5 separate regions of the Homo sapiens genome follow, and all the other regions are linked to region 5. The links are contacts of gene promoters, found by promoter capture Hi-C in blood cells and fetal thymus (Javierre and others, 2016). All regions are on one chromosome and are shown on one strand. The core of a region is centred on a gene start or on the middle of the fragment in contact, and the rest is flanking DNA. Distances in the headings are between cores, read along the strand shown.

Region 1 (3,301 bases), core at 354-2,853, 760 kb before region 5:
GTTGCAGTGGGCCGAGATCGCGTCACAGCACTCCAGCCTGGCGACAGAGTGAGACCCTATCAAAAAATAGCAGCAGGCCAGGCGCGGTGGCTCATGCCTGTAATCCCAGCACTTTGGGAGGCTGAGGCGGGCGGATCACGAGGTCAGGAGATCGAGACTACCCTGGCTAACACGGTGAAACCCCGTCTCTACTAAAAATACAAAATATTAGCCGGGCGTGGTGGCCGGCGCCTGTAGTCCCAGTTACTGGGGAGGCTGAGGCAGAAGAATGGCGTGAACCTGGGAGGCGGAGGTTGCAGTGAGCCGAGATCGTGCCACTGCACTCCAGCCTGGGAGACAGCGCAAGACTCTAGCTCAAACAAACAAACAAACAAAACAGCAACAACAACAACAAAACCATCCTCCCCTCCCGAGGGGACAGAACAGAAACGAATGGGCGAGTGCCGGGCCAAGCAGTGGGTCTCCAGCAGGTGGCATTAAAATAGGAATTTTGGCTGGGGACGGTGGCTCACACCTGTAATCTCAGCACTTTGGAAAGCCCAGGCGGGCGGTCACCTGAGGGCAGAACCAGCCTCGCCAACATGGTGAAATGCCATCTCTACTAAAAATAAAAAATTAGCCAGGCCTGGTGGTGGGTGTCTGTAATCCCAGCAACTCGGGAGGCTGAGGCAGGAGAATCGCTTGAACCAGGGGGGCAGAGGTTGCAATGAGTCAAGATTGCACCACCGCACTCCAGCCTGCGTAACAAGAGCGTGTAACTCTTGTCTCAAAAATAAATTAAATAAATAAATAATAAAAATAAAAAAGAATCTTCATTCATGGGAAGTCGAGAACACATGAAAACAAGTAAAGGCCGAAGCGCAGTGGCTCACGCCTGTAATCCCAGCACTTTGGGAGGCTGAGGCGGGCGGATAACCTGAGGTCGGAAGTTCGAGACCAGCCTGACCAACAGGGAGAAACCCCGCCTCTACTAAAAATACAAAATTAGCCGGGCATGGCGGTGCATGCCAGTAGTCCCAGCTACTCGGGAGGCTGAGGCAGGAGAATCGCTTGAACCCGGAATGTGGAGGTTGTGGTGAGCTGAGATCGGGCAATTGCACTCCAGCCTGGGCAACAAGAGCGAAACCCTGTATCAAAAAAAAAAAAAAGAAAAAAAAAGGAAGAAAAGGCCTAAAGGCGCCGGGCGCGGTGGGTCACGCCTGTAATCCCAGCACTTTGGGAGGCCGAGGCGGGCGAATCACGAGGTCAGGAGATCGAGACCAGGTGAAACCCCGTCTCTACTAAAAATACAAAAAAATTAGCCGGGCGTGGTGGTGGGCGCCTGTAGTCCCAGCTACTCGGGAGGCTGAGGCAGGAGAACAGCGTGAACCCGGAAAGCGGAGCTGGCAGTGAGCTGAGATCGCGCCACTGCACTCCAGCCTGGGTGACAGAGCGAGACTCCGTCTCAAAAAAAAAAAAAAAAAAAAAAAGAAAGAAAGGGCCTAAAGGCTCCTCGCGGCTTCCGTATTACGGAACACACGCACAAAAATGGCGGCGACCTGGTTTACAGGGGCTAAAAATGGTCACGTGATAAACCAACTTCCGGTCTTTCGCCCAAAGCACGTTCCCTACTTCCTGTGCTCTTGCGGAGACGCGCGCGTCGGGGTTTAACGCGTTTCTGGGCCGCCGTAAGCCCGGCCTAGGGGCAGCTTTGACTCGAGAGCCGGCTATAGGCGCATGGAAGGTTCCCTGGAACGGGAGGCGCCAGCGGGGGCGCTGGCCGCCGTGCTAAAGCACAGCTCGACGTTGCCGCCCGAAAGCACCCAGGTCCGGGGCTACGACTTCAACCGCGGTGTGAATTACCGCGCACTGCTGGAGGCCTTCGGCACCACCGGCTTCCAAGCAACCAACTTCGGGCGCGCTGTACAGCAAGTCAATGCCATGGTGAGGACCGGGCGGAATTTCTAGGGACGCGGAGGGGCGTGGCTTGTAGAACCAACGCGGTACTAGACGGGGGCAGCGTTTCCAGTGGAGGGGATATGTCTTTTATTTGAGTTGCCCAATAGTTGGAGGAAGGCGGGACCTATTCTGGGCGGGAGTTTCTGTCCTGGGAAGGGGATTTTGCACTCTGGTAGTTACATGCTGGTACGGTAACCTGAGGAGGCGAGGACTGATTCTTGGTGTGGGGGCGGGTTCTAGGTACATTTAAAGCTTTCTGGAATGGGCGGAGCCTGGGGCAAGACAAATTAAGGGAGGATATGGGAGGAGGAGCCTAAGTCTGGGCGGTTCTTGAATTTAGATTTGCTTTTCCCAGCGGGGAAGGGACCGGATCTGAAAGGAGATGCTCTCTGATTCCTAAAAGGGTGGGGGCTGGCTGGGCGCGGTGGCGCATGCCTATAATCCCAGCATTTTGGGAAGCCGAGGCGGGTGGATCAAGAGAAGAGGAGTTCGAGACAAGCCTGGCCAACATGGTGAAACCCTGTCTCTACTAAAATGCAAAAAATTAGCCGGGCATGGTGTTGCGCGCCTGTAGTCCCAGCTACTCGGGAGGCTGAGGCAGGAGAATCGCTTGAACCCGCGAGGTGGAGGTTGCAGTGAGCTGAGATTGCGCCACTGCACTCCAGCCTGGTGACAGAGCGATACTCTGTCTCAAAAAAAAAAAAAAAAAAAGGCCGGGCACGGTGGCTCATGCCTGTAATCTCAGCATTTTGGGAGGCCGAGGCGGGCGGATCACCTGAGGTCGGGAGTTCGAGACCAGCCTGACCAACATGGAGAAACCCCGTCTCTACTAAAATGCAAAAAATTAGCCGGGCATGGTGGTGCGCGCCTGTAGTCCCAGCTACTCGGGAGGCTGAGGCAGGAGAATCGCTTGAACCCGGGAGGTGGAGCTTGCAGTGAGCCGAGATCGCGCCATTGCACTCTAGCCTGGGTAACAAGAGTGAAACTCCGTCCAAAAAAAAAAAAAAAAGGGTGGGGGCAAATCCTGAACGTGTGTCTTGAGATCTGGTCTGGGAAGGGGCAGAGTTTACACAGGAGATGTTCCTTGGTCCCCTGTAGAACTGGTCCTGTATCCCTGAATGTGCAGGGCCTGGGGTGAAATCTGTTTCTGGAGCCCACCTGGAGTCCTGAGTCTGGGATTTAAGGCCAGTGCTTAACTTGACTTGGCCCTTACTCACAGATCGAGAAGAAGCTGGAACCACTGTCACAGGATGAAGACCAGCACGCGGACCTGACCCAGAGCCGCCGCCCACTTACCAGCTGCACCATTTTCCTGGGATATACATCCAACCTCATCAGTTCAGGCATCCGTGAGACCATTCGC
Region 2 (3,035 bases), core at 443-2,942, 570 kb before region 5:
AAACCAACATCCAGAAGGTTAAACACATACCAAAGCTTGGAGTCCACACTCTCTCCCTGTTAGGGTATAGTCCCTAGAGTGGAATAGTCCCTGGTGACAGCAGGGACACCTGAGCAGCCACAGGAATGAACTCCGGGAGCAGAGAATGCCCCTTCCCACTGGTTCTCGTAAGTGACGAAACTGTCAGCTGGATTCAGATGAAGGTTCTGACACAAATGAACTCCCAAAGTCATTAACACCATGTCCAGGAGACAGAACTTGTAACTTTCACAGACTTTTTCAATATGGAAAAATTACACCACGAGTGTACCCTAATGTGAAAGCAAAACTCAAACCTAATGTCTAAAAGTAGACCCAAGGAAACTACAATTACAACCTAGACAATTAAAACCCTCCCGGTTCTCCTAAAACCGCGTGCGGTTCCCAGCATTCCAGTGCTCTGTAGCTTCTCTCTGTATAAAGAGCTCTTTCCTTGGTGGGTGAGAGCAAGTAGGACACTTTTGGGGAAGGCTCCCCAGGAAGACCCATCTGGGCTTTCAATGACCTCCCTTTGCAGGCTCAAGAGTGGTCTTAGCTTGAAGTCACTAGTCTCTGGCTGCTGCTCCCCAGTCATGGGGCTTTCAACCGCTATTGATGTTTATTTTTTTGAGACAGGGTCTCCCTCTGTCACCCAGGCTGTAGCGCAGTGGCGAGATCATAGCTCACCGCAGCCTCGACCTCCAGGGCTTGGGCTTAAGTGAGCCTCCCACCTCAGCCCCCTGAGTAGCTGGGACTACAAGCACAGGCCATCATGCAGCTAATTTTTGTATTTTTAGTAGAGACGAGGGTTTCACCATGTTCGCCAGGCTGGTCTCGAACTCCTGACCTCAAATGATCCACCCACCTCGGCCTCCCAAAGTGCTGGGATTACAGGCGTGAGCCATCACGCCCAGTTGAAAGACGGGAACTTTCAAAGTTGCTTTTCTGGTAAAAGTTAAAGCAGAGGGGACTTTCTTTATCATGTTGGCTAAAACTGGCCTGTTGGGGATTTGACCAGCATCTCTTTCTCTCCTGATAATTTGTAAGGTCAGATAAACAACTTAGTTTCAGCTTGGTAGCGAGGAACGTCCCCGTGGGTAACTCATTTTGGTTTGGTCTGTTGGGTCTAGTGCAGGAGCTCAGTCTAAACCAATGGCTTCCTACAAATTGTATTTAACAGGGCAAATAATAATATTATGAATTGGAGAGGGAAAGCTTCATTTGGAATGAAAGAAGGAATTGGCAAATTTAGGGATTTCCTGTCAGTCCTAGGAAGAGCTAGGCTGGAAAACGGGGTCGTGGATTTGAGATCCTGTTTTCACACGTTTGTAAAATTAAGGGGCAAACCGGTCCCCCTGGGGAAAAAGAAGAGACTGGGGACCCCACGGACCACCGCTCCTCCCACGCACGAACGCCACACTCGAGCCGGGATTCCTTCTCTCCTATGACCCTCCCGTGATCCCCACACAATCTTGGAAGACGCGGGGCTACGGGCATGGAGCTGCCCACACAGGGCTCCGGGACCCGGGCCTCAGTAGCCGCGCGGGGACAGGACAGGACTCCCGGGATCCTGGCTGCCGGCCCAGCTTCACTCTGCGGCGGGAGGAGGCCGAGGGCCGAGCTACGCCAGGGGGACTCGGGTTCACAGACCCAGGAGTGGCCGCGGGCAGGCCCGGTTCCCGCGACAGCCGGTTCCGGCCAGCAGCTCTTCAGGTCTCGGGATTCCAGGCCCCGCACAGTCACCATTTCCGGGCTTCCGCGGTGTCCCCACCCCCTAACTACGACTCCCTCTGCCAGTGCGGGTCCCAGAGCGACAGAGGCTGCGGCAGAGCCACCTAGCGACGTTCGAGGCAGGAGAGACACAAACTGGAAATCGCGCCACCGTATCCACGCGCCTTTGTACAGGGCGGCCCCACCCACCGCTCCGGCGGCGTCTCCAATTGGACAGTTTGTGAGGTTCCACCCCCTGTTGCCTGAGTCACATCTCAGACGGAGGTCAGGTAGCTGAGCGATCCAGCTTCCACTTTTGTCCCTGAAACTGTCCTGCCAGAGACATTTGCATTATACCAGAACTTTATATGCTAGATATAAAGGCCCTCAGACCGGACACTGGCGTTTACCGAAGAAGCTTCTGAACGGGGACATAGGTGTGCGCGCAGGGAATGCCAGACAAGAGTTTCCAGATAAAGCGAACCCCTTGATGACTGACTCTTTGAGGAGTAAATCCACAGCAAAAGGGCCCTGGAGGCAAGGCCATACTGGATCAGGAGAGTCAGATATTCTCCAGAGGACAGTGGCTTGGCATCATGCTGCCAGGACACTCAGAACTGTGACCCCGTAGGTTCACAGAGACCAGGCAATGTTTACATTTTTAATTTTAAGTTTTGTTGTGGGTACATAGTAGGTGTATATATTTATGAGTTACATGAGATATTTTGATGTAAGCATGCAATGCCTAATAATCACATCATGGTAAATGGGGAATCCATCAACTCAAGCATTTATCCTTTGTGTTACAAACAAGCCGATTATACTCTTTTAGTTATTTAAAAATGTGCAACCAAATTATTTTTTACTATAATCACCCTGTTATGCTAGCAAATACTAGGTCTCATTCATTCTATTTTTTGTGGCCATTAACCATCTTCACTTCCCCTTCCCCCAACCCCCGCACTACCCTTTCCAGCCTCTGGTAACCATCCTTCTACTCTCTATCTCCATGAGGTCAATTGTTTTAATTTTTTGCTCCCAAAAATAAGTGAGAACATGTGAAGTTTGTCTTTCTGTGCCTGGCTTATTTCGCTTAACATAATGACCTCTAATTCCATCCAAATTGTTGCAAATGACAGGATCTCATTCTTTTTTATGGCTGAATAGTACTCCATTGTGTATTTGGAACATTTTTTTTTTAATCCATTCATCTGTTGAGGGACAGTTAGGTTGCTTCTAAATCTTGGGGATTGTGAATAATGCTGCAATAAACATAGGAGTGCAGATATCTCTCTTCAATACATGGA
Region 3 (3,515 bases), core at 879-3,378, 630 kb before region 5:
TCTCAAAGGAATCATTACTTGCCAGTTTTAAAATCCATATAAAGTATTTTAGAATTTTTTGTCTTCCAGCTTATACATAACCACAGAAGGAAAGCAGGAACTCTGCTAGTTTCTTAAAAACAAACAAACAGCAAAGGGGATTGAAGGTCTTTTTTCTTACCTAAGTGGATCAGTGTTGGTGAGAAGCAAGTGAATAAACTGCAGTGGGCAGGAGAGCCTGAGACCAGTCTGGAGCCTGCAAAGAGAGGGAAAGGGTGCTTCTTGGGCAGCCTGCCCGCCCTTGCAGGTGGCCTCCAGCTGCTCAGGAGTGCAGATTCTTTTTTTAATTTTAATTTTATTTTTTACTTTTATTATTTTTTTGAGGCAGAGTCTCACTGTTTTGGCACCCAGGCTGGAGTGCAGTGGCGCAGTCTGGGCTTACTGCAACCTCTGCCTCCCGGGTTCAAGCGGTTCTCCTGCCTCAGCCTCCCGAGTGGCTGGGATTACAGGCACGCGCCACCACGCCCGGCTAATTTTTGTATTTTTACTATAGACGAGGTTTCACCATTTGGCCAGGCTGGTCTCGAACTCCTGACCTCAGGTGATCCGCCCGCCTGGGCCTCTCAAAGTGCTGGCGTGAGCCACCGCGCCTGGCCAGGAATGTGGATTCTGAGAAGCTGCAGAGCTGTGAAAAGCAGGAGACCCATGTGCAGATGTGGTTGGGTTGGGGGTGGAGGGTTCTGTCTTTTCTGAGGTTGTACCTTTGGCGCCTGGGGCCATTTCCTGGACAGTGTTTTGGTTTTAGCATTCATGGGGTCGCTGAGTCAGGCTGTAATTTGTATACATGAAGAAAATCTGTGAGGGTCAGACTCAGTGAAAAACTTGTTTGCATTGTCCCCTGGAGAAAAGGTTTGGGAACATGACAATTTATTTAGGTCACGACTTTACATTGACTCCGGGTGAGAGTTTCCTGCTGGTACAAATGAAGGTTTTGAAGGAAAGAGTGTTTCCACACTGTGAGGAGAGGACTGGAGGGCACCTTGAGCTCCCAAAGTTGAATTCTTAAGTGTCCCTGTCTCATCACCAGGTTCTGATCCACACTGGGGTTCCATTTCAGCAGTTAGAGTCTGGGTCCCAAGCTTGGGATTATTTTATTTTATATTTCATTTCTTCATTTCATTATTTCATTTCATTTCATATTTCATTTTTTAGTCTCGCTCTGTCGCCCAGGCTGGAGTGCAATGGCGCTATCTCGGCTCACTGCAACTTCCCCCTCCCAGGTTCAAGCGATTCTCGTACCTCAGCTTCCCGAGTTGCTGGGATTACAGGCACCTGCCACCACGCCTGGCTAATTTTTGTATTTTTAGTAGAGATGGGGTTTCACCATGTTGGTTAGGCTGGTCTTGAACTCCTGACCTTAAGCAATTTTCTCACCTTGGCCTTCCAAAGTTCTGGGATTACAGGCGTGAGCCACCGCGCCCGGCGCTTGGGAATATTTTTAACGTTATGATTGTGGGTTTTCCTTGTGAACTGCGGGTGAAGCAGGCTGCTTGTCTGAGCTAGTTCAAATGTTTGCTTACTTCTCTTGGTTTCTTTATAGATGATCGCTGTCATAAAAACTCCAGTTTTTCCTATACATTTAATACTTTTATTTCTTTGTCCGTTTTAATTTTCTTGCCTGAAAGAAGCAAGCCCTCCTCCCTCCTGTTACACTGTGGTCTGGCCTGGCCTGGGCGCGCCTCCTACTCCGAGGCCAGGGGATGGCTCCACTGGACGCCGAGTCTGTCATTCCCTGTGCACACTTGTGACTCTGTGTCCGGGAGGAAAAGGCAGGAAGGGCACCCTGAGTGCAGAAACACGCCAGTGTCACCTCTGCAGAGCCTGAAACACTTTCTGCTTAAATGCAAATATCCTCCCCGGCACAGAAGGTTACAGAAGGAGGAAGCCCGGCCCGCGAAGGGCAGTGGCCAAGACCCTGTCAATCTGTCTTTACTCAGCCACATACCGCATTGCTTCTCCTGTCACTCAGTACCAAGGGGGCAGGACTTGAATCATCACCCAATCAGGGGCACTGGGGCGGGAACCTGCAAACCATCCAATCAGGAACTCTGCAAGGGGGACAGGGGCAATGTTCAACAACTCCGCGGGGTCTTCCTGTTTCGTGTCCGCTGCGTTTGGGTTCCGGTCTCCGCTTCTCCAGTGGCCCCGGTGGCTCCACCGCAGCGTCTGGCGCGCTGGGACCTGCACAGGCCGGAGAGAGCCGTAGGCAGGACCCCGGGACACCCTGGAAGCCAGGAAATGGTGCGTGTGCGGGGCCGGGCGCCTGGAGACTGGGGGAGGGGCTTGTGGGAACCGGCCGGAACCGGCTGTGGAAGCACCCTGGCCTCCCTGCAGCGACTCCAGGGTCTGGGACCCGAGTTCCCTGGCGCAGCTCGGCCCTCTGTCCCCTCGGCCGCAGGGTGGGTTGGGCCGTAGCCAGTACCCCAGGCGTCCTGTCCCGTCCCTGCGCGGCGACTGCGGCCTCGGCCTCGGAGCCCTGTCTGGGCAGCTCCGCGCCCGCAGCCCCGCCTCTCTCCAGATTGTTTGTACTGGGACACGGGAGGGTCATAAGGCGGAATCCCGTCTCGGGTGTGCGGTTCGTGCATGGGAAGAGCTGTGGGCTGTGGCCTTCCCAGTACATCGTCTTTTTTTCCGGGGGACTGGTCTTCCTCCGAGTCTTCCAAACGTACTGGAAAAAGAATCTCAAACCTACGACTCCCGTTTTTTTTAGCCTAGCTTTTTCTGGGGCTGGAAATAAATGCCTAAATTTCCGGTTCCTTCCCCGCATTCCCAAAGGTGACCTCCCCTCGCCAAATCAACATTATCAGCTGTTTTTTGTTTGACATTTAAGACACAGTATTTTAGTTGTTTATAGTTTCTTTCACCATACTCTTTTGAAAGGATTTGTTTTCTGTTTGTTGTTTTTTTTTTCTTTTCAGACAGAGTTTCGCTCTGTCGCCCAGGCTGGAGTGCAGTGGGAAGATCTCAGCTCACTGCAACCTTCGCCTTCCGGGTTCAAGCAATTCTCCTGCCTCAGCCTCCTGAGTAACTGGGATTACAGGCATGCGCCGCCACGACCGGCTACTTTTTGTATTTTTGGTAGAAACTGGGTTTCTCCATGTTGGCCAGGTTGGTCTCAAACTCCAGACCTCAGGTGATCCGCTCACCTCCGCCTCCCAAAATGCTGGTATTACAGACGTGAGCCACCGCGCCCGGCCTCTTGTTTGTGTACTTGTAACCTGAGAGGGAAACGGAGAATAAGAACCTGACACTCTACGGTAAAATTTTTTTTTTTTTTTGAGACAGAGTTTCGCTCTTATTGCCCAGGCTGGAGTGCAATGGCGCGATCTCAGCTCACTGCAACCTCCACCTCCTGGGTTCAAGCGATTCTCCTGCCTCAGCCTCCCGTGTAACTGGGATTACAGGCATGCGCCACCATGCCCGGCTAATTTTGTATTTTTAGTAGAGACAGGGTTTCTCCATGTTGGCCAGGCTGG
Region 4 (3,323 bases), core at 425-2,924, 600 kb before region 5:
GAAACTCTACAGAGATGTGATGCGGGAAACCTTTAGAAACCTGGCCTGTGTAGGTAAGGATGACATCATTCCTTCTTTTAGTCAGTTAGAGAAGAAGTATTTCTTGCTTTTTAATGCTTTTTCATGATGTCTAATGTGGAAAAGGGAATACTTGGGTGAATAAATCAGGGTTGTTTGCACCTTATCATGAACTTAGAATCTAGTCATTTTTCTGTAATGTCTATCAGTTCATAAGGATTTTTTCTGACTATATTTTAGGAAAAAAATGGGAAGACCAGAGCATTGAAGATTGGTACAAAAATCAGGGGAGAATTTTAAGGTAATTTGCACTGACAAGATAAAGCAATGTCTCCTTCTTAGTATGTCATGAAATTTTAAAAATAAGTAAACAAACCAGTAAGCCCAGCTTCAGATTTATTTATTCCTACAACTTTTTCACCAGAAAAAGAAAAAGTGGCATAGATGTTCAGTGTTGCAAAATCATTCACTTGGAAATAGTATTAAGAAACTGTATATATGGATATCACTTTTTTGGTGATAGCTACTGTCAAGCTCTCTTGCAGAGCATTCCATCCATTCACTTTCAAACAATTCATACAGGCCTGAAAACTTACCCTTTCCGCGATTATGGTAAAAATGTAAGTCGAATACCTATTAATAAATATAAAGTCACAAACCACTAAATCTTGCTTTCTATTTTTTCCAGAAATCATATGGAAGAGGGACTCAGTGAAAGTAAAGAATATGATCAATGTGGAGAAGCCTTCAGTCAGATTCTCAATCTTAATCTGAACAAGAAAATTCCTACTATAGTAAGACCATGTGAATGTAGTTTGTGTGGGAAAGTCTTCATGCATCATTCATCCCTTAGTAGGCACATCAGATCTCACCTTGGACACAAACCATATGACTATCAGGAATATGGAGAGAAACCATATAAATGTAAGCAGTGTGGGAAAGCCTTCAGTTCTTGTCAATCCTTTCGAAGACATGAAAGAACTCACACTGGTGAGAAACCCTATGCATGTCCGGAATGTGGGAAAGCCTTCATTTCTCTCCCAAGTGTTCGAAGACACATGATTAAGCACACTGGAGATGGACCATATAAATGTCAGGAATGTGGGAAAGCCTTTGATCGCCCAAGTTTATTTCAGATACATGAAAGAACTCACACTGGAGAGAAACCCTATGAATGTCAGGAATGTGCAAAAGCTTTCATTTCTCTTCCAAGTTTTCAAAGACACATGATTAGGCACACTGGAGATGGACCTTATAAATGTCAGGAATGTGGAAAAGCCTTTGACCGCCCCAGTTTATTTCGAATACATGAAAGAACTCATACTGGAGAGAAACCCCATGAATGTAAACAGTGTGGGAAGGCCTTCATTTCTTTCACAAATTTTCAAAGTCATATGATTAGGCACACTGGGGATGGACCTTATAAATGTAAAGTATGTGGGAGAGCCTTTATTTTTCCCAGTTATGTTCGAAAGCATGAAAGAACTCATACTGGGGAGAAACCCTATGAATGTAATAAATGTGGTAAAACCTTCAGTTCTTCCAGTAATGTTCGAACACATGAAAGGACTCACACTGGAGAGAAGCCCTATGAATGTAAGGAATGCGGGAAAGCCTTCATTTCTCTCCCAAGTGTCCGAAGACACATGATAAAGCACACTGGAGATGGACCTTATAAATGTCAGGTATGTGGTAGAGCCTTTGACTGTCCCAGTTCATTTCAAATACACGAAAGAACTCACACTGGAGAGAAACCCTATGAATGTCAGGTATGTGGGAAAGCCTTCATTTCTCTTAAAAGGATTAGAAAACATATGATACTGCACACTGGAGATGGACCTTATAAATGTCAGGTATGTGGTAAAGCCTTTGACTGTCCTAGTTCTGTCCGAACACATGAAAGAACTCATACTGGAGAAAAACCCTATGAATGTAAAGAATGTGGGAAAGCATTCAATTATGCCAGTTCCATTAGAATACATGAAAGAACTCATACCGGAGAAAAACCCTATGAATGTAAGCAATGTGGAAAAACGTTCAGTTATTCCAGTTCCTTTCAAAGACATGAAAGAGCTCATAATGGAGATAAACCTTACGTAAAGAATGTGGGAAAGCTTTCATTTATCACACAACCTTCGAATACCTGTGAAAATGAATAGTGGAGGACAGGTCTACAAGTATCTACATATCTAAAGAATATGGAAAGTCTTCAGTTTGCTTTCTGGGTTTCAGACTTGTTTGGGAGCTCACCCCTTTCTCCTGTTTCTCACTTTTGGAATAGGAATCTCTATCCTGTGCCTGTCTCATATTTTGGAAATACATGACTAGTTTGGTTTTCACCGGTTCGGAGCTGAAGAAGAATTTTGCCTCAGCATGAATTGAGTCTCATCCATATCTGAGTGATGTGATATTGAGATGACACTTTGGAGTTTGAGTTTAAACATTAGGCTTCATGCTGGAATTAACTGAGACTTTTGAGGCCTTTGGGATGAGATGAATATATTTTACATGTGATGACATGGATTTTGGGGGCCAGAGGTGTAATGTTTTGGCTGAGTGTATGCCACCTCAGATTCATATGTTGAAACCTTACCCCCGTGCCCCCCCTCTCCCCCACAATGTGATGGTATTTGGAGGCCCTGTCTCTGGTGGTTTTTAGGATTGGAGGACATCATGAAGATGGAGGCCTTGTAATTGGGATTAGTTTCCTGATAGGAATCCCTAGAGAGCTAGCTTTGCCCTTCACCATGAGAGGGTGCAGTGAGAAGATAGCTATCTTTGAACCGGGAAGCAGGCCCTTACCAGACATGGACTATGCCAGTGCCTTGATATTGGACTTCCCAGCCTCCCAAACCATGAGAAATAAATGTTTGTTGATTAATTAAGCTTTCCAATTTATGGTATTTTGTTTTAGCAACCCAAGCTAAGACACAATCCAATTTTAAAATGGAGGAAAGGACTTGAATAGACATTTCTCCAAAGAAGATACCCAGATGGCCAATAAGCACGTAACAATGCTCGACATCTTTAGTCATTAGGGAAATACAAATCAAACTCAAGACATACATAGCATCTCATTAGGATTAGTAGTATCAAAGATGGAAAACAAGAAATACTGTCAAGGATGTGGAATGTTGGAGAACATTGTGCACTATCACTGGGAATGTACAGTGGTATAAGCCTGCTGAAAACAGTATGGCAGATCCCCAGATTAAAATATAGAAATAACATATGATCAGCATTTCCATTTCTGGGAAAATAAAAAGATTGAAAGCAGGGCCGGGCGTGGTGGATCACGCTTGTAA
Region 5 (3,489 bases), core at 362-2,861:
TGGTAAACTAAAAATAAAAACATACCTCTGGCCCGGCGAGATGGCTCACATCTGTAATCCCAGCACTTTGGGAGGCTGAGGTGGGTGGATCACTTGAGGTCAGGAGTTCGAGACCAGCCTGGCCAACATGGTGAAACCCCATCTCTACTAAAAATACAAAAATTAGGAGGGCATAGTGGTGCATGCCTGCAATCCCAGCTACTCAGGAGGCTGAGGCAGGAGAATCACTTGAACCCGGAAGGTGGAGGTTGCAGTGAGCCGAGATCAGGCCATTGCACTCCAGTCTGGGCGACAGGAGACTCCGTCTCAAATAAAAACAAAGTACCTTTCCAGCTAAGTGAAGTGACCGGCTCTTGGCCAACAGGACCCGCAAAAAACCCTGAAAATTGAGTGCCTCTGTATGACAGGATGGGAGGTGAGACAGGTCTCCTTATACCCTCTCCCACACATTCATGTAAAAATAGATAGAATGGAAAAACAGACTGCTTGTGGCAAGAAGATACTAACTTACAAACAAAACCTAAGGCCACGCAAGGCAAAAGTAAAGTCACGCCTCAGAATTCATAAAATCTAGAGAAACAGGTCTGTTTTCTGGCTGGGATGGAATCAAGTGGCAGATAACAGACCCCCTTCCTTCCTACCTCCTCCAAACTTTAGACAAACTTCACACTCTCAACCAGCTGCCACCTACAGAATCCCTCAACCACCTGTGCCTTCTAACCCCCCTTCCACAGGTCCCACCCTTTCTGCCAATGGAACTTACACCTTTCAGGCACTGATTCATCATTTTCCCTGCAATTCCTGTCTCTCTGAAATGAATAAAACCAAACTGTCTTGAGCCGCCTCGGGACCACTTACTCCAGGCTGCTTGGGGTTGTGTTTCCCTCGGCCAAGGTCTCTCCTATTCGGCTCTGAATAAACTTCTTTATTTTACATAGTTTGGCTTTTTCCGTTGACAAACCACAACCCAGGACGGGGTGTTTCTCATTCGTGAATCGCTGTTTGCTCAAATGAACTCTTTAATTGTTAACGTACCTCAGTTTAATTTTTAACAGGAGAAAGTGGGGACTGGGGGCCCCACAGACCACTGCTCCTCCCACGCACGAACCCCACACCCGAGTCAGGATGCCTCCATGACCCTCCCGTTGCTTCCGCACAATCTGGGGAGACGCGGGGCTGCGGGAGCGGAACTGCCCAGAGAGGGCTCCGGGGCAGGGGCCGCGGCCGCAGTCGCCGCGCAGGGACGGGACAGGACGCCCGGGTCCTGGCTGCTGGCCCAGCCCCGTCCAGCGGCCAAGGGGACCGAGGGCCGAACTGCTCAAGGAGGACTCGGTCCCAGACCCCGGAGTCGCCCACAGGGAGGCCCGGGTCCCGCCACAGCCGGTTCCCGCCTGTTCCAGGCAGCCCCTCCCCCGTCTCACGACATCTGGTCCCGCACACGCACCATTTCCCGGCTTTCAGATGTACCGGGGTCCTCTCTACAGCTCCTGTGACTACAGCAGGGCATAGCGCAGGCGACAGAGCGACAGAAGCCTGGGTACAGGCACCAGGTCCCTCTCGGGCTGGTCTGACCGGTTACCAACCGCCGCCCGCGCAGCGAGGAAGGTGAGGAAAGCGACCCCCTCCATTTCCGGATGAACTGTGGGCAGTGCCACGCCCCAGCACCTCTGATTGGATGAAATACTAGGTCCCGCCCCCCACATCTGAGTGACAGCTGAAGCCCTGGGTATCAGGCCCCGCAGAGCCAGACTGACGGATTCTAGCCACAGCTTCTCTAAGGGCGAGCTGCTTTCTGCACTCTGGTTATTGGATATTTGCATTTCAGCCAAACTTGCTATTGATAGAAGAGAACACTAGCGTCATCCTCACTCAAGGGACAGTCCCCGCTCCTTCGTTCTGCACGGGGTCACAGGAGTGTGCAGGGAATTTCAGACTCAGTGTCCATAGGAGCCAACTGCTGGCCTCAGAGCAGCAGGGGAACCGAGACCAGGCCAGGCACGACTGCACCAGGAGGAGAGGCATATGTCCTCGAGCGGGCCGGAATTGGGGATGAGGCGTGGCCAAGCCTTGCTCACACACCCCCATCCCCTTGTGAAAATGCTTCCTCCTTTCAGATCTTCATTTTCACCAGCAGGAAACTCTCACCAGGTTTTGTTTCTGACCTAAGTAAACTGTCAACTTCATGAACCCTTTATCCAGGTGACGCCACCAAACAATTCTGTCTCTAGCTCTAGCCTGATCTTCACACATTTTCTTTTCTTTCTTTCTTTTTTTTTTTTTTTTTTTGAGACGGAGTCTTGCTCTGTAGCCCAGGCTGGAGTGCAGTGGTGCGATCTCGACTCACTGCAAGCTCCGCCTCCCGAGTTCACGCCATTCTCTTACCTCGGCCTCCGGAGTAGCTGGGATTAAAGGCGCCCGCCACCACGCCCGGCTAATATTTTGTATTTTCAGTGGAGACGGGGTTTCACCGTGTTAGCCAGGATGGTCTCGATCTTCTGACCTCTTGATCCGCCCGCCTCGGCCCCGCAAAGTGCTGGGATTACAGGCGTGAGCCACCGCGCCCGGCCACACATTTTCTTTATCTATACAAATAACTCTGACCCCAACGACCCCATGCATGTCAAACCCCAAACCCTGCCCAGAAGACAGCTCCAGAGGTACAACACCAGAAAGGACAGAGACGCCACAAATGCGTCTGCACATGGGTCTTCTGCTTTCCAGGGCTCTGCAGCTTCTCGGAATCCACACCCTTTCTGGAGCTGCTCTGAGCAGCTGGAGGCCACTTGTAGAAGGGGGTGGGCTGCCCGCGAAGCCCCCAGGGAAACTCTCTTTCCCTCCCTTTGCAGGCTGCAGAGACTGTCCTCAACGTGGAATCACTGGCCTTGGGCTCTGCTGCCCCCTGCAGGTTATTCAGCTACTTCTCACCCCATCGATTAGTTTCGCGAGACAAACACCTTCAATCCCATTGTGTAAATAAGACACCAGCAGAGTCCCTGCTCTCCTCCTATGCTTATGTATAAAGTGGGGGAGGAAAAATCTAAGATAACTTAAGGGCATTTGAAAGACTTCCAGATCGCGGTGGAGGTGGCAGCTGAGGGACTCGCAGTCAATGACACTGCAGCACCTCCAGGCCAGGCTGGTGGGAGAGAGGGTGGAGAGCTGGAGATGGATGTGGATAGGTGGAGGGAGCTGCCCTGGGAACTGGGCTCTGCAGCAGTGCGGCTCTAGGGCCCGGAGCCCGGGAGAGCAGAGATGGGGGCTCCCAGGACAGGAAACTCAGGGAGGAGAGAGTCGGGTGGCTTCCATGGGACGGGGTGCTGTTGCAGCTTGTGTGAGCCAGTAGCTATCATAACTAAGCCCAATCGGGACGTGAAAACTTGGATTCCGTGGGAATTTATGAAGAGGAAGGCTCTGATGACAAAGAAGTCATCGATGAGGAGGGGGATGAGGGTCACTGGCAAGCTTGCTTCCTTATGGAAAGAAAAGTGA

What was found. Contacts are between HindIII fragments. The CHiCAGO score rates a contact against its expected background, and 5 or more counts as called.
Region 1: the fragment with the promoter of DHPS here is called in contact with the fragment with the promoter of ZNF700 in region 5 in 1 of 17 cell types (total CD4 T cells); the score reaches 5.0 in total CD4 T cells.
Region 2: a fragment that was not itself captured here is called in contact with the fragment with the promoter of ZNF700 in region 5 in 10 of 17 cell types (naive CD4 T cells, naive CD8 T cells, M1 macrophages and 7 more); the score reaches 7.8 in naive CD4 T cells.
Region 3: a contact is called between the fragment with the promoter of ZNF564 here and the fragment with the promoter of ZNF700 in region 5, in 2 of 17 cell types (total CD8 T cells and megakaryocytes). The highest score is 5.3, in total CD8 T cells.
Region 4: a fragment that was not itself captured here is called in contact with the fragment with the promoter of ZNF700 in region 5 in 1 of 17 cell types (erythroblasts); the score reaches 5.3 in erythroblasts.

What each region holds. Positions count from the first base shown.
Region 1 is chr19:12,680,182-12,683,482 of GRCh38, reverse strand. DHPS (deoxyhypusine synthase) reads left to right here and starts at 1,603. Exons shown (of 9, transcript NM_001930.4): 1 at 1,603-1,923; 2 at 3,158-3,301. The coding sequence starts at 1,717. RefSeq lists enhancers at 1-382, 906-1,428, 1,494-1,788, 1,429-1,952 and cis regulatory regions at 1,312-1,846, 1,872-2,372. The HindIII fragment of the contact is 4,796 bases long and covers 1-2,192 here.
Region 2 is chr19:12,494,285-12,497,319 of GRCh38, reverse strand. No RefSeq gene overlaps it. Among named protein-coding and RNA genes, the nearest start is that of ZNF709, 11 kb to the right of the region's middle. RefSeq lists enhancers at 1,697-1,776, 1,038-1,917, 1,918-2,798 and a silencer at 1,967-2,016. The HindIII fragment of the contact is 913 bases long and covers 1,236-2,148 here.
Region 3 is chr19:12,550,095-12,553,609 of GRCh38, reverse strand. ZNF564 (zinc finger protein 564) reads left to right here and starts at 2,128. Exons shown (of 4, transcript NM_144976.4): 1 at 2,128-2,280. The coding sequence starts at 2,278. LINC02926 (long intergenic non-protein coding RNA 2926) reads right to left here and starts at 1,884. Exons shown (of 2, transcript NR_187485.1): 1 at 741-1,884; 2 at 1-235. RefSeq lists enhancers at 76-575, 576-1,077, 1,861-2,155, 2,221-2,330, 2,989-3,491 and a silencer at 2,561-2,640. The HindIII fragment of the contact is 25,081 bases long and covers 1,121-3,515 here.
Region 4 is chr19:12,525,300-12,528,622 of GRCh38, reverse strand. ZNF564 (zinc finger protein 564) reads left to right here. Exons shown (of 4, transcript NM_144976.4): 2 at 1-53; 3 at 259-319; 4 at 707-3,250. The coding sequence ends at 2,177. Among named protein-coding and RNA genes, the nearest start is that of ZNF564, 25 kb to the left of the region's middle. The HindIII fragment of the contact is 920 bases long and covers 1,215-2,134 here.
Region 5 is chr19:11,923,229-11,926,717 of GRCh38, reverse strand. ZNF700 (zinc finger protein 700) reads right to left here and starts at 1,611. Exons shown (of 4, transcript NM_144566.3): 1 at 1,445-1,611. The coding sequence starts at 1,507. It also overlaps a transcript of ZNF69 not described here. RefSeq lists a silencer at 1,149-1,348 and enhancers at 1,739-1,848, 1,899-1,948, 1,396-1,968, 2,125-2,914, 2,915-3,489. The HindIII fragment of the contact is 3,475 bases long and covers 1-3,464 here.